Regions from separate parts of the Homo sapiens genome. Here region 2 is linked to region 1. The links are contacts of gene promoters, found by promoter capture Hi-C in blood cells and fetal thymus (Javierre and others, 2016). All regions are on one chromosome and are shown on one strand. The core of a region is centred on a gene start or on the middle of the fragment in contact, and the rest is flanking DNA. Distances in the headings are between cores, read along the strand shown. Region 1 holds the start of IFFO1 (intermediate filament family orphan 1). Region 2 holds the start of RBP5 (retinol binding protein 5).

Evidence for each region. Contacts are between HindIII fragments. The CHiCAGO score rates a contact against its expected background, and 5 or more counts as called.
Region 2: the fragment with the promoter of RBP5 here is called in contact with the fragment with the promoter of IFFO1 in region 1 in 6 of 17 cell types (non-activated CD4 T cells, activated CD4 T cells, naive B cells and 3 more); the score reaches 9.1 in non-activated CD4 T cells.

What each region holds. Positions count from the first base shown.
Region 1 is chr12:6,554,326-6,557,768 of GRCh38, reverse strand. It overlaps IFFO1 (intermediate filament family orphan 1), which reads left to right and starts at 1,727. Exons shown (of 10, transcript NM_001193457.2): 1 at 1,727-2,512. The coding sequence starts at 1,740. It overlaps NOP2 (NOP2 nucleolar protein), which reads left to right. Exons shown (of 16, transcript NM_001258308.2): 16 at 127-898. The coding sequence ends at 776. RefSeq lists silencers at 1,550-1,709, 1,760-1,999, 2,110-2,289 and enhancers at 2,750-3,250, 3,251-3,443. The HindIII fragment of the contact is 7,963 bases long and covers 354-3,443 here.
Region 2 is chr12:7,127,255-7,130,991 of GRCh38, reverse strand. RBP5 (retinol binding protein 5) reads left to right here and starts at 2,103. Exons shown (of 4, transcript NM_031491.4): 1 at 2,103-2,289; 2 at 2,574-2,752. The coding sequence starts at 2,217. It overlaps CLSTN3 (calsyntenin 3), which reads right to left and starts at 621. Exons shown (of 18, transcript NM_014718.4): 1 at 280-621. The coding sequence starts at 343. RefSeq lists an enhancer at 1-323 and a silencer at 765-864. The HindIII fragment of the contact is 14,463 bases long and covers 1-3,737 here.

The DNA of each region.
Region 1 (3,443 bases), core at 478-2,977:
AGGCACTGACCTAATTGTGTGGAGCTCCTGCCCAGGAAATGGCAATTCTCATATTTTAATATGAGAATATTAAAATATGGTGATAAGGCCCATTTTCTGACACCATCTGTTTAATTTTAACCCCAGGAAATTCTGAAACAGCCACACCTACAAATGTAGACTTGCCTCAGGTCATCCCCAAGTCTGAGAACAGCAGCCAGCCAGCCAAGAAAGCCAAGGGGGCTGCAAAGACAAAGCAGCAGCTGCAGAAACAGCAACATCCCAAGAAGGCCTCCTTCCAGAAGCTGAATGGCATCTCCAAAGGGGCAGACTCAGAATTGTCCACTGTACCTTCTGTCACAAAGACCCAAGCTTCCTCCAGCTTCCAGGATAGCAGTCAGCCAGCTGGAAAAGCCGAAGGGATCAGGGAGCCAAAGGTGACTGGGAAGCTAAAGCAACGATCACCTAAATTACAGTCCTCCAAGAAAGTTGCTTTCCTCAGGCAGAATGCCCCTCCCAAGGGCACAGACACACAAACACCGGCTGTGTTATCCCCATCCAAGACTCAGGCCACCCTGAAACCTAAGGACCATCATCAGCCCCTTGGAAGGGCCAAGGGGGTTGAGAAGCAGCAGTTGCCAGAGCAGCCTTTTGAGAAAGCTGCCTTCCAGAAACAGAATGATACCCCCAAGGGGCCTCAGCCTCCCACTGTGTCTCCCATCCGTTCCAGCCGCCCCCCACCAGCAAAGAGGAAGAAATCTCAGTCCAGGGGCAACAGCCAGCTGCTGCTATCTTAGATGGTTGAAAACTAGACGGGTGGCTCACTGCCATTGTCACCAGGTTGGAACTCTTGCCTCTGTGAGGATGCCTTCTCTACTGTGCATACCCATGAAATTTAATACACATTTTAAAACCTCTGGCCACTGAGTATTTTTGAGGGAACTGGGTGCTGCCTTTGCCGCTTTAAGGGTAAAGATGGGAGGTGGGACTGGGATCTTCTGAGGAGAGGGAATGGTTGGGTGCTACTGAGAAATAAGGTCAGTTTTAGGCTCCTGCATCCTTGGGTTTTCCCAGGAAGGGAAAGCCCTGGAGTCAGAGCTAGGGGTGATTGAACTCCGGGGAGAGGAGGGCAATAGAAGTGTAGGGGAAGGCGGGGCACACTAGCTCATGCCTGTAATCCCAGCACTTTCTGGGAGGCCAAGGCGGGTGGATCACCTGAGGTCAGGTGTTCGAGACCAGCCTGGCTAACATGGCGAAACCTCGTCTCTACTAAAAATACAAAAAATCAGCCGGGTGTGGTGGCGGGTGCCTGTAATCCCAGCTACTCGGGAGACTGAAGCAGGAGAATCGCTTGAACCTGGGAGGCTGAGGTTGCAGTGAGCCAAGATCGCGCCACTGCACTCCAGCCCGGGCGACAGTGAGACTCGGTCTCAAAAAAAAAAAAAGTCGTGTAGGGGAGATGGGCTTGCCACCAGAACCCATGGGGTACTGGAGGTCCTGGGCTTTACGCCACCCCGGCTGGAGTCCAGGCGGTGGCTCCCCTCATCACAGGGCTCGGCCTCAGACCCGGAAAGGTCCAGGGTCCGGCCTCCAATTGGAGCCTGTCATTGGCTTCCCCTCGGCCCGCCCCCTGACCTCTGCCCCGCTGCCGAGCCGCCTGATTGGTCGGCTCTGTCCCGCCGGCGCCGCATTGGCTCTTCTGGCTCGCCTTCCATCCCTGCTCCTGCACCGGTCTGCATCTCCCAGCAGAAGGCGCAGCCATGAATCCGTTATTCGGCCCCAACCTCTTCCTCCTGCAGCAGGAGCAGCAGGGCCTGGCCGGGCCACTGGGGGACTCACTGGGAGGCGACCACTTCGCCGGGGGAGGAGACTTGCCCCCGGCGCCTCTCTCGCCGGCCGGCCCTGCTGCCTACTCGCCGCCCGGGCCGGGCCCGGCCCCGCCTGCCGCCATGGCCCTCCGCAATGACCTGGGCTCCAACATCAACGTGCTCAAGACCCTGAACCTCCGGTTCCGCTGCTTCCTGGCCAAGGTGCATGAGCTGGAGCGCCGGAACCGGCTGTTGGAGAAGCAACTGCAGCAAGCGCTGGAGGAGGGTAAGCAGGGCCGGCGGGGCCTGGGTCGTCGCGACCAGGCAGTGCAGACCGGCTTCGTCAGCCCCATCCGGCCCCTGGGGCTGCAGCTGGGCGCCCGGCCGGCCGCTGTCTGCAGCCCTTCGGCGCGCGTGCTGGGCTCGCCCGCGCGCTCCCCGGCCGGCCCCCTCGCGCCCTCCGCGGCCAGCCTCTCGTCGTCCTCCACCTCCACCTCCACCACCTATTCCTCGTCGGCCCGCTTCATGCCCGGCACCATCTGGTCGTTCTCGCACGCCCGCCGGCTCGGGCCGGGACTGGAGCCCACTCTGGTGCAAGGGCCTGGCTTGTCGTGGGTGCACCCGGATGGGGTGGGCGTCCAGATCGACACCATCACGCCCGAGATCCGCGCTCTCTACAACGTGCTGGCCAAAGTGAAGCGGGAGCGGGACGAGTACAAGCGGAGGTAGGGATTGGGAAAGGGGGACAGGTCTCTCTGTGTCATACCACTCACAACGGGCCGCGAGTTGGTGTGGGTTCCGAAGAATCAGGGGTGAAAAGAATGAGAGTAAAGTTTGTGCTGTGTAATGAGGAGCTTGGAAGCAATTGGATGCAGGGAGACTAGAATCCGCAGAGAATGCAGAAGCCCTGCTCGTGACAGGAAGAAGGACGCTGGGAGCGGAACACGGGGGGATTCCTACTTTTCCGGCTTGTCTCTGCCATCCAGGCTTAACTGCGGGTTTTGTGCGGTGTGAAAGGGACTGGGGCTCTGCCCTACCGGTCTCAGCCCTGGGGCAGGTTAGGGATATAAACTTCAAAAGTAGGAGGCAAGGATATAGCGTAAATTTGGGAGACTAAATTGAGTGAAACTGGAAGGGGCTGGTGAGGGAGGGGCTGTACCTTGCAACGAGTGATTCTTTCACACCCCAAGGTTTCCCAAAGAATATTGATGGAAACCAGGTACCTGCTGTGGTTTCATAGGAAAAGCTCCGGGACCTCAAGCCATTGCTTGAGTAGGTCAACAAACTGGGAAAAGAAAGAGTGAAGGGAATTCACTAGGGTGAGGGTGGAGAGCAGGGCTGACAGGGGAATCTTGGCAGTATAAAGCGCCAGTGGGGAGGGAGAGTGGAGAGCCAGCAGGGGACTGAGCAGGGAGAAGCTGGGATATGGGCCCTCCCTAGGACCGCGAGGCCGCGGGGCGGGCCCGGTGCATTCTGTGGATGAAGATTTGGCTGTCTGAGAGGAGCCCGGCCCCAAGGGGCAAGGGAAAGGGATGTGATGCCAGGAGTGCTGGCTGTATACCAAGTGGATTCCTTAGATGGCTGATAACCAAGCCGATAGGACAGGAGTGAGAGCAGAGGTAGTGTCTTGCAGACTCCAACCCAAGCCTTGAGGAG
Region 2 (3,737 bases), core at 854-3,353, 570 kb before region 1:
GAGAATAGAGACCCCAGGACGGGAATGGAGACCAAATGGGAGCAAGATGACCAGCAAGAGAAACGCATGGGTAGAGATGGACCAGAAAGGAAGATGTAGCTGGGGGAAGAGAAAGAGAGGAGACGGAGCAGGTCTGAGAACGGATGGGAAGGAGGGTGATCAGAAGAGGGCCAGACACCTGTCAGGTGCCAGGGAGCCTCGACACCTCCTTCCCACCCCCACCCCGCACGGCGCTGCCCGACGCCCCTCTTTCGGTACCCCCACCCCCACCTCACTCACCTTTGTTACAGGAGCAGGACGCGAGCAGAGAGGCCAGCAGAAGGGGCAGCAGCAGGAGGGTCATGGTGCGGCGTGGGGCAGGGCAGGGCCAGGCGTTTGCCTCCCCTGGGAGCCTCCAGCCTGCGGATTCCACCTTGCGGGAGGGATACAGGGGGTCTCCAAGGAGCGGGGTACAGCAGGGCAGGGACGGAAAGGAGCCTGCCGCCCACACTAGTCCATAAAGCGGGCCTGGGCAGATCCCAATCTGGGTAGCTGAGGCGGTGGACTTGCAGCGGCTTCCCGTTTCCCCCAGCCCAGCGTCCTCACTCTCTCACTCCCACCCCAACCCCGCTACTGCAGGATGACGTCAGCACAGCCGGGCAACGATTGATGGGGCCGCCGGCCAATCAGGTGACTGGGAGGGGGGGGGACCAGGTGCTGCAGCGGGGGAGGGAGCCAATGAGACTGGGGCGTCGGGGCTGGAGAGTTTCAAGGCTCCTTCCCCTGGCTGCAATTTTGGGGGAGCCGAGGAACTGCGGGGGCTGGGGAGGAAGCTGGAGAGCCACGGAGGGGGTGGGAAAGAAGAGGGACGTGGGGAGAAAGAAGCCAGAAGCCAGGGGGTGGGGAAGAGAGACGTCAGCGGGACCTGAGGGCGGCCAGGAGGGGTGGCACCGCGTCACCCCGCCCCCCAACTCTGCCATAACCTGTTTCCACAGCCCCTTCCATCCACAGATCCGTGCTGCGTGCCCTCTGGGAAGGGTGAAGTAAAACCCTCAGTCTGAGCCTGAGAAATCCTGGCATTTGTAGCCCAGGGCTGCGAGGAAGCCACAGGGCGGTCCGCAGGGCGGTATCGAGGCTCTGGGACCCAAGGAGGGGCAGGACGTCGTGCACCCCTCGCGCACGCACCTGTCGGGACCGGCCGCCTCCTCCTGCCTACCTGTCCTGCCTCCTTCGCCCCGAATTTCACCTTAAACCATGATGAACCAAGCCCAGTGGATTCTGAAGCCCGGGACGATGGCAGGTTCGAGAGAGAATTGGGCAGCTGGGGGCGGGGCACAATATTATTTAGGCGCCTCCACCCCACCTTCACAGAAATACATCTGGAAAGCATGGGCTGTCCTAGGGCTGGGGACTGGGGGTTACGGTCTCATCGATGACTCAGAGGGAGAGAAAACCCCCTGGGTCCCAAGCCAAAAAGAATAAAATTCTCCAGAATAGCCAACAAACTCCTCTCAGGCTGTCTGTTCCGGACTTTGAACTCAGCACCCCTCGGGCTCCACCTCCCTCCTAATGGCTCTTTAGGACCAAGAGTCTGGAATGCCACTTTGGGGTCCCAGTTGAGCACACTACCTGAGGGAGCTCTGAGAGCCAGGCCTACAGGGTGCTCTTCATGGTGGCAGCTGGCCATCCTCACCCCCTCCCCTCACATCTTCCAACATCACTCAGTCCCAGGATCTCAGGATATTGTTGGAACTCATCTCCACCTCACACAGCCAGACCAGCCTCAGGTGTCTCCCAGGAAAGACTGCCCCTCAGGCCCTGGGACGGTTCCCAAGCCTGCCAGAAATGAGGTGGAGGCCAACACTGACCTTTGGATGGCTGAGTTTTGGATGACTGACAGCCCCAGATCCTGCTCCAGGTTCCTTCCTCAGGAAGGATCCTGCTCCAGGTTCCTTCCTCAGGAAAAGCCAAGGTCAGGCGCAACTTTGCCAAATCCCTGCCCCTCCTTCAGGCTGGAGACACCACCCCCAAACTCACCATGCGGGGAGGGAAGAAGTCTGGTAGGGACTCTTATTGCAACAGGGCCCCAGCCTTATAAAAAGCCCTGGTAACCCGGCCATTACACATCCTGTCTCTGTGTGTGGAGCTGGCTGGAATCTCTCAGCCTCACCTGCCAGACAACACCCCCTCCTTCCTCACCCTGTCTCCTGCATTCTCCTGAAACCTTCATCCACACAATGCCTCCCAACCTCACTGGCTACTACCGCTTTGTCTCGCAGAAGAACATGGAGGACTACCTGCAAGCCCTAAGTAATGGCCTCGCCCTCCCAGACCCCTGTCACTCCCTTTCTCCCCTCTTCCTTCCTGCTTCTTGGTCCCATGGAGAAGAGGGAATGCCCGGGGTTGGACACTGTGGAAAGGCTCAGGCGGCTGGCACCAGACCTGGGATCCATTTCTAACCAGGCATTGGTAGGAGGGGGTGAATCCACAGTCCCAGACCCAAAGAAGGGAAACTCACAGCCCTGAGGGGCTGCTGCAGGCAGAGGAGCTCCTGGCTGGCTAGCAGCACCCCTACTAACAGGCAGCCCCCACAGACATCAGCTTGGCTGTGCGGAAGATCGCGCTGCTGCTGAAGCCGGACAAGGAGATCGAACACCAGGGCAACCACATGACGGTGAGGACGCTCAGCACCTTCCGAAACTACACTGTGCAGTTTGATGTGGGAGTGGAGTTTGAGGAGGACCTCAGGAGCGTGGACGGACGAAAATGCCAGGTACATTTCCCCTGGCTGGGCGGTGGCCGGAAGGAGGCATCACAGGAGACTCCTAACAACATGGGGCAAAACAAAGTGACCTTCCCCAGCCAGAGCAGCGGGGAGGAGGGGAATGGTCACCACAGCAGGGAATGCAGTCCCCAGGATACCAGTCTCCAGAACTAACAGGTCCTGGTGCTCCCTGTCTCTCTCCCACTTCTTCCCTGCCCCCTCTTATCACCAGCCCAAAGGGCAAAGAACAGGCCAACCCAGACCGAAGAGCAAACATTTGCCCACCCTCCAGCCTGTGACACTGTTGGTCACCCAGAGTCCCTTTTACTTTAGCATCAATAACTTCACTCTCCTGCATTTCTTTCTACTTCTTACATATTCCTTCTTAGCCTCCTTTGCAGATCCTAGTCCTCCTATTAATCCTTTAAACTGGAGTTTTCTCCGCAGAGTTTTGTTCTTAATGTCTTCTCCCTTTTGTCTGCCCACTATCCATAGGCTAAATCATCTACACCCATGCCTTCTGCTTCCATCTATAGGCTGCCCTTGGCATGAATTCTCCAGCCAGAGCCATCTCCTGAGCTCCAGGGCAATGTTTTCAACTGCCTACAAAATACAGTTGGCCCTCCATATTCATGGGTTCTGCATCCACAGCTTCAGCAAACTGCAAATGGAAAAATATTTGGGAAAAATAAAAATAAAAAATAACAATACAAAATGATACAAATAAAAAACAATACAGTATAGCAACTATTTACAGAGCATGTACATTGCATTAGGTATTATAAGTAATCTAGAGATGATTTAAAGCATATGGGAAAAGGCTGGGCGTGGTGGCTCACACCCATAATCCCAAGACTTTGGGAGGCTGAGGCAGGCAGATCACTTGAGGCCAGGAGTTCAAGACCAGCCTGGCCAACATGGTGAAACCTCATCTCTACTAAAAATACATAAATTAGGCCAGGTGCAGTGGCTCACACCTGTAATCCCAGTACTT